Linked DNA regions of Homo sapiens: region 2 is linked to region 1. Evidence: promoter capture Hi-C in 16 types of primary human blood cells and fetal thymus (Javierre and others, 2016). All regions are on one chromosome and are shown on one strand. Each heading gives the region's core, a stretch centred on a gene start or on the middle of the fragment in contact. The rest is flanking DNA. Distances are from core to core; before and after follow the strand shown. Region 1 holds the start of SLC25A53 (solute carrier family 25 member 53). Region 2 has its middle 13 kb from the start of TMSB15B-AS1.

Evidence for each region. The method cuts DNA at HindIII sites, captures the fragments that hold promoters and counts their contacts. A CHiCAGO score of 5 or more calls a contact.
Region 2: a contact is called between a fragment that was not itself captured here and the fragment with the promoter of SLC25A53 in region 1, in 1 of 17 cell types (total B cells). The highest score is 5.9, in total B cells.

What each region holds. Positions count from the first base shown.
Region 1 is chrX:104,154,807-104,158,929 of GRCh38, forward strand. It overlaps SLC25A53 (solute carrier family 25 member 53), which reads right to left and starts at 2,203. Exons shown (of 2, transcript NM_001012755.5): 1 at 2,072-2,203. It also overlaps a transcript of FAM199X not described here. RefSeq lists an enhancer at 1,977-2,276. The HindIII fragment of the contact is 6,927 bases long and covers 1-2,413 here.
Region 2 is chrX:103,930,678-103,934,800 of GRCh38, forward strand. It overlaps a transcript of TMSB15B not described here. Among named protein-coding and RNA genes, the nearest start is that of TMSB15B-AS1, 13 kb to the left of the region's middle. The HindIII fragment of the contact is 663 bases long and covers 1,878-2,540 here.

The DNA of each region.
Region 1 (4,123 bases), core at 953-3,452:
TATTTCAAAATTTCATATTCCAAAAGAGCTAAGAGTACATTTCAAATGTTAGCACCACAAAAAAACTATTAAATTCCATGTTGAGTCATTTTTGTGTAAAAAAAGATAAAATTTTAGGTGATGAATATGTTATTTACCTTGATTTAATCATTCTACATTGTATATATATAAAATACCACTTTGAACTCTATAAATGTATACAATTTGTAAATATACAATAAAATTATACAAATATAAAAATAAAAAGATTTTCTAAGCAGTGTCAAATAAGTCCATTTTATTTCATATCTACTGTGTCTGAATTCAGACATGCCTGACGTTTAGGAGTGTGCCTAGCCTTCCCTAGGGGAGATATTCTTTTTTTTTTTTTGAGACAGAGTCTCACTCTGTTGCCCAGGCTGGAGTGCAGTGGCGCAATCTTGGCTCACTGCAACCTCTGCCTCCCGGGTTCTAAGAGATTCCAGGAGATATTCTTTCCAATTTATTGTCAGCTCCGTTTAGACCTATAGTTCTCCAAGTATGGCCCCATGTCCAGGAGTATCAGCATCTCCTGGGAACTAGTTAGAAATGTAAATTCGGGGGTCCACTCCTGACCAACTGTAGGGGCAACTCTGTGGATGGGACCTAGCAATCTTGGTTTTAAGAAACGCTCCATCTGATTCTGATTCACAGGAAAGTTTGAGAGCCACTGACTTAGACTGCTATACTGTTGTTTCTCTGGTAAACAAAGAGGCTTCTTTTCTTGTTCAGAGAAATATTGCTTAGGATTTCTGGTGGGTGCACAATTCCCTGCTGTGAACCGAGTTTGCTGGAAAACCAAGTAACTAGCACCTCCATCGTAGTCCTACCCAGAGCTTGCAGGCTTTGCACTCACGTAAGACTGATTCTTCCAGAGGCGCCTGGAAGTCCCATTGTGATGGGCAAATGCTCTTACCAGAAATAAACTAGTTGTGGGGACCGGGCGCGGTGGCTCATGCCTGTAATACCAGCACTTTGGGAGGCCGAGGCAGGCGGATCACTTGAGGTCAGGAGTTCGAGGCCAACCTGGCCAACATGGTAAAACCCCGTCTCTACTAAAAATATAAAAATATAAAAATTAGCCGGGAGTGGTGGTGGGTGCCTCTAATCCCAGCAACCCGGGAGGCTGAGGCAGGAGAATCACTTGAACCCGGCAGACGGAGGTTGCAGTGAGCGGAGATCACGCCACTGCATTCCAGCCTGGGCGACAGAAGTAGAGAGACTCCTTATCAAAAAAAAAAAAAAGAAAGAAAGAAAGAAAAAAAAAAAGAAATACACTAATTTTGGGCCTTAAATGCTACTCAGTTCTCCAGTTCACCTCAACAGGGAGGGAAGGTGCTTGGAGGAAAATTGCACTTCGTTTTTGCCCTGCTTATTTTGTCTTCAAAATATATGTTAAATCACCGCATCAAAGAGCCGTCCCAGATCTCAACTCCCAGATGAGTTCGGTGGCACCCAATAGATTTTCATAACACAGGATCTATCTCTGTCTCCTTGTATTGTAATAGCCTGTCTCCAAATGCAGATAGCAACCGGCAGGCTGTAAATGTCGAGGAAAAAGCCTAATTCCTTTCCTCATCCGGAGCCTCTAGTGCAGTACCCAGCACAGAGCAGGTACTTGGTATTTTGGTAAGGGAAATCAATCAACGCATCAATAGCAGAATCTGAAACCAGGGACCTAGATCTTTCCAATAAAATCATCCTGCTGAGATGTGACTCAGATGTACTGGTGCCCAGCAGACAACACGTTTTCGCCCTGATTTTATCCTCCATTCATCCGTCCGCCCCCTCCCCCATAGACCCCGCCTGTCCCCAGCTAAAAATAATGAGGGGATTCACACATCTCAGTGTCAACACACACAACACAGTTGACACGCCCCTTAATCCTACAGCTACGCCATCAATTCTCGCCGCCGGGTCCGTCCGCTTGTCAGTTTCCCCTACTCCTCATCCCCTCGCAACTTCTGATCCCCTATCACTTCCGTTCCCGTTTGCCTGCTAGGCTGGAAGCAGGATGTGTCTACGCCCTCAGCCCATAAGAAGTGCTACAAACCTCCGCCTCGCTCGCTGTCATGGCGGCGACCGACGGCCCCTTTCCTGTGGCCTCAGAAAGCAGCGACAGTCGCAGTCACCGGACCTTCGCCCATCCGCCGCCCTCACTTAAGCGACGCACAACGGAGCTCCCACAATCCTCTTTGCTTCCGCTCTCTTTATTTCCGCCTCCCCCGCCCCCGCCTCGACATTAACCGTTTCGCGACTACGTCAGTTGGCCGGTCTGTTTGGGAGAGCCAGGCGACTAATCTGGTATAGAGACCGAAAAACACAGGTAAAAAGACCTAAAAGACTTAGTCATCTATTGGAACATTTCCCCAGTTTGTTTGTAAGTTGGCTTGCAAGCTTATCAGTCATTCTCAAACAGGAGCTTAACTTACTTAGGTGAACAGTTCATGATGACGCCTTTAAGCTGCTAGACCAACCCAAACTCCGAATTTGCAGTTTCTGACCTTTCACCTTGAACCTGTGCCCTTTCTACCCTCTATTCTCCATCTCCTTTTGGTTCTTGTCTGACTCTTTAGCTGCATATGTAAAGAGCACAGACTTTGAAACCTGAGCTCCCGCGTTCGAATCCCCACTGTACCACTATCTAAACATGGCATCTTGGGCAAGTGATTCAAGCATGCTATTCCTTGGCTTTTTCATCTGTAGAATTGGTATAATAATAGTACTTACCTCCAGAGTTGCAGTAAAAATATTAAAATTTCACATGTGAGGAGCACCTAGAACATTGCCTATCATGAAGTTAAGCAGTATATTGAAATATAAATTATAATGATTGAATTTGATCTCACCTAAGACCTCTGGCTAATAAATAATAAATGATAATAATCATTTCACCTGGGATAGAGGGGATTGCCCTGTTCTCTCCAGGCTGAGGCTGTAATACCTGATTCTAGGGACTGCTGATATGGAAATTACTACCACTCTGGCTGGAGTCAGAAGAGTATATTAAAGAGTCTCTTTGTACTGTCCTAAAATAAGCAAAATCCAACGTTTGCAGTTCTATGGACCACGCACTATGATAAGTGCTTTAAACCCATTTTGTTGTTATTGCTTCATCCTCACAATAGCCCTTTGCTGGTTCTTAAGTGTATTACCCTTTCCTGTCCTCTTTGTCTGCTTAAAGCAGCTAAGAAAACTCAGATTAGTCAGATTGCATATAAATCAATAACTTGCCCACGGTCACAGAGCTAATAACAAATAGAGCCAAGACTTAAACTCAGATACATTCAGATGTGTCTTGGTATTTCTCAAATATCACTGAGAAAAAGGCCACCATAAATTCTTTTCAAGTGCTCTCTCTCCCCCAACTCCCCACCCCAAGAATTGCCTGAATGCCCATACAGAAAGACTAGGTTCTCTTCAGAAGCAGAAGGGCAGAACCCACTAAGGCAAAGATCTCTCCCTTGAAGGCTGGCAGCCAAGGAGGTGACTATAGTAGGAATTGGCATAACCAGCTCACTCATTGCCCTCCACTGTGCCACACAGGCCCCATTACTTCCTATAGTACTGAAGACCACTGGGGATAAAGGTACAGGGCCTTCACCTCATCCCACCGTTCTGTAAAGCTTGGATATTAGCAAAGATCTTGCTTATTTTAGGACAGTACAATGAGACTCTTTAATATACTCATCTGACTCCACCCAGAGTGGTAGTAGTAATTTCCATATCAGCAGTCCCTAGAGTCAGGAATTACTGCCTCAGCCTGGAGAGAACAAACCAATCCCCTCTGTCCCAGGTTAAAACAAAACAGGAATTCCCTCTGTTCCTTCAGAATGTACGGTACCCAGGATGTTGTTATTCTTGCTCCACACCTACCCACTCTCACTTCCCAACTTATCATCAGGCAGTCCACAATGGTTTTTTCAGGGGAAGGATTGGTGATGGTGAAGGGACTGAAGGAGAAGGTAAATCACCAGGTTTGCTGAAGGTAAATGAAGCACTGCCTTGTCCCTACCTCTGTACCTCTTTTGTAGCTCCCTGACCTTCTTTCTCATTTGGCATTTCAGAACCCATCACTCCACACCTAGGAAACCCTCTTGGGTTT
Region 2 (4,123 bases), core at 959-3,458, 220 kb before region 1:
TCTTTTAATAGTGGATTTAGTTTTGTGCTAATGATAATGATGCTGTTGATAATAATAATAATAATAATAATAATAATAATAATAATAATAAATTACTTTCAACTGGAACATTTGATGGGTTTGTGTTACTGATGGCATATTTGCTATTAGCACCAGTTCAGGAACTGAAATTTCACAAACAGATTCACAATATATAACAGTCCCATTTGTTTCAACTCTGGGATTTTGAGGATTTCCAAGATGACATGTGTTATAGTTTCCCCCTACAGATATCTCAGTAATGCCCTCCACTTGCATCTCCTTACTGAACCAAATTTGTCCTGTATTTGTCTTACCAGGTTGTAGTTCTAGCAGTGAGAACTTCTCACTGAATGCCACAGAAATTAAAGACACAGTTGTTGGAGGTATGATGTCAGACAGCATTTGTCACCAAGGTTGGCAGAAAATGGCTAGTCCAGGAGAGTTGAAAATGAGCTTCCACATCTGCAAATCGGGATGTGTTGGAACAGTACTCAACTTGTGGATTCAAGGAAGTATGAACACAGAGTCTGCATAAGGAAAGGAAAAAGATGCATTTATCTCCTAATTACACTGGTGATTTCCACTTATGTCACTCTGTACATCCATGTCCCTTTCTTCATTTTAACTTCTTATTTAAAAATAATTTCAAACATTTAAAAATGTTGCAAGCATAAATAAAGCTTAAAGAACACCCATGTCCCCTTTACCCTAATTCCCCTATTATTAATGTTTCTCCCCATTTGCTTTATTATTTAAGTGTGCACTCTGTCTATACACACACAGGATATTTTTTCCCTGAACTGTGAATTGCATACATCAATTTTCAGTATTCCTCGATTCAATGTTTGCAAATCCAAATTCTTTTAAAAAAGACTGTGTTTTATCTCTATGACAATGGAACCGTTATTGCAGAATATTATAAAATGAAAAGTCACATGGTATATGTGATACTGTGAAATATATATTTGCTCTTCGATCCTGTTTCCTGGCATGCAACTCTTAAAATCCTTAGAATTTCCAAAGTGATATCTTTTTGTATGCTAATAATTGACTGATGGCTGGCAGCCTCTGGTTGCTTCAGGATGGGAACTAGTCACCAGAGAGACCAAGGCGCCATTAGAGGGTTGGGACTTAACAGCCTCATTCCCGACCTCCAGGGAGGGGAGAGGGGTGGAAGGTTAAGTCGATCACCAGTGGCCAATGATTTAATCAATCATACCTATGTAATGGAGCTTCCATAAAATCCCCAAGGAACTGGGTTTGGTTAGCTTCCAGATAGCTGAATATATGGAGGTTCCTGGAGGGTGGTGACCCAAGGAGGGCATGGAAGCTCTGAGCCCCTTCCCCAGTACCTCACCCTATGCATCTCTTCATCTCTATCCTTTGCAATATCCTTTATAATAAACTGGTCAACGTTAGGTATTTCCCTGAGTTCTGTGAGCCTTTCTGACAAATTAATCAAACCCAAAGAGGGGGTCATGTGAACCGAAACTTGAAGCCCATCTGTCAGAAGTTCTGGAGGACTGGATTTGCGACTGGTGTCTGAAGGGCCTGGGAACAGTCTTGTGAGACCTAGTCCTCAGCTTGTGGGATATGACGCTATCTCCAGGTAGATTTGTGTCAGAATTGAATTGGAGTACACCCAGCTGGTGTTTGCTGCAGAACTGATTGCTCACTTAGTGTGTGGGAAAACCCCACACATTTGAACATGGAAATATTCTTTGTTGATTGCCGTGATGTGAAAGCAAAGGAAAAAGTTTGTGTGTTTTCCCCTCAGAGCATATTTTAAAGCTAAGTTGCTAATAATTGCTTAAATTTACTATATTTGCCTTTATAAAAACTTTATGTATGTTTAAAGCTTGAAGCTATTCAATTATAATATAAACGTGGATTTACAACTGAAGCATGTTATAATTTAAATAATTGAGTTTTACAAATTGGTTCATATAAAATCCTAGGCAATACTGTAAAATTATACAGACTTGTCAACTTTTTCCACTTAAATCTTCTGAGCAAAATTTAAGGGTGTAGTAGTTTTCAAGTAATTTCAAATGTCAATATTAATATTTAGTTTTGTGATGTTTATGTGGGCATATTTTCTGATATAAAAAATGACTTTTAGGAGTTGAGATCAATAAAATAAGGAGGTAATAAATACCTACATCTGTTTAAAGACATAAAATATACAATTTAACACTAAAGCTACTTGGTATAAAAAGTCAAAAGAAAAAGAATAAAAAGCCATCACAAAACACAATATATGCATGATATATATTTTTGTCTAAATATAAGCTACATCAGCTTTTCTAGAGCTCAAGTTGAAATAATAAATAACTAATGTTTTATGACAAATCATTATATGGTTTATTTAGACAATTTTGCTTTTACAACTTATTTTTAAACATTAAATAGCATTATAATTTTACTGGGATAATGACATATAGTGTAGTACATTAAAGTTATATATAAAATAATGTTGCATATGAGAGAAAAAGCATAATAAATCAGAAACTATAAAAAGCTTTCATAAAATAATAGGATAAAAATACTGTATTTCTCTAGTCTGTTCACTCTCCAATGTCTCTGGTTCTTTCATATCATCTTTCTTCCCTCAAATCTTTTAATATACCCTCCCTCATCATTTCCAACTAGTGACCTTGCTTTCTATTTCTTTAAGAAAAGAGATACGCTCAGACGAGAATTGCCAGTTTAAAGAACATTTTTAAAGCTATCACCCATGTAATAACTAGCCCGGGCAAGAAATAGAGCCCTTTAATAACCTACTCCTCTCCCCCCGCCAATGATGATATCCCTTCTTCCATCTTAGGGTTAGCCCCCATGCTGACTTTTGTGATAATCATTTCTTTGCTTTTGTTTATAGGTTTTCTTCCTTATAAGCATCCCTAACCAACAGTTTTGTTTTACAGATGTTTGAACATTATATACTTTATAAACTTGGAATTGTGACTATCTTGTTTCACTCCACATTGCTTGTGATACTCATCGATATTGCAGATAGCTGTAGTTGATCCATTTTTATTGTTGTACAGTTTACCATTGTACCATAATTTATTCATGATAAGTTTGAGGGTCATTCTGGTTGTTTGCAGGGTTTTCTTTTCTTTCTTTTTCTCTCTTTTTTTTTTTTTTACAATTCATTCGTTTTATTGATGCATAATAATTGTATATGTTTCTGGGGTACATTTGATATTTTGATACATGCGTACAATATGTAATGGTCAAATCAAGGTAATTGGGATATCCGTCAGCTCAAATTTATCATTTCTTTGTGTGGGAAACATTCCAAATCTCTTCTAGCTATTTTGAAATACACAATAAATTGAATACTATGGTCACTCTGTTGTGCTATTGAACGCAGAACTTATTCCTTCTCTCTAACTCTATTTTTGCACCCATTAACCAATCTCTCTTCATTCGCCCCTCTGCAGGACCCTTCCCAGCCTCTGTTAACCACAGTTCTACTCTCCACCACCTTGAGATCAACTTTTTTAGCTCTCCCATATGAGTGAGGACATGTGATATTTGCCTTTCTGTGCCTGGATTATTTCACTTCACATTTCACTTCACATAATGTCCTCTGAGCACATCTATGTTGCCAGAAATGACAGGATTGCATTAGTTTTTTTTTTTTATTATTGTACTTTAAGTTCTGGGATACATGTGCAGAACCTGCAGGTTTGTAACGTAGGTGTACATGTGCCATAGTGGTTTGCTGCACACATCAATCCGTCATCTACATTAGGTATTTCTCCTAATGCTATCCCTCCCCTTGCCCCCCGCTCCCAGACAGGCCCCAGTGTGTGATGTTCCCCTCCCTGTGCCCATATGTTCTCATTGTTCAACTCCCACTTATGAGTGAGAGCGTGCAGTGTTTGGTTTTCTGTTCCTGTATTAGTTTGCTGAGAATGATGGTTTCCAGCTTCATCCATGTCCCTGCAAAAGACATTAACTCATTCTTTTTTATGGCTGCATATTATTCCATGGTGTATATATGCCACATTTTCTTTATCCAGTCTGTCATTGATGGGTATTTGGGTTGGTTCCGAGTCTTTGCTATTGTGAATAGTGCTGCAGTAAACAT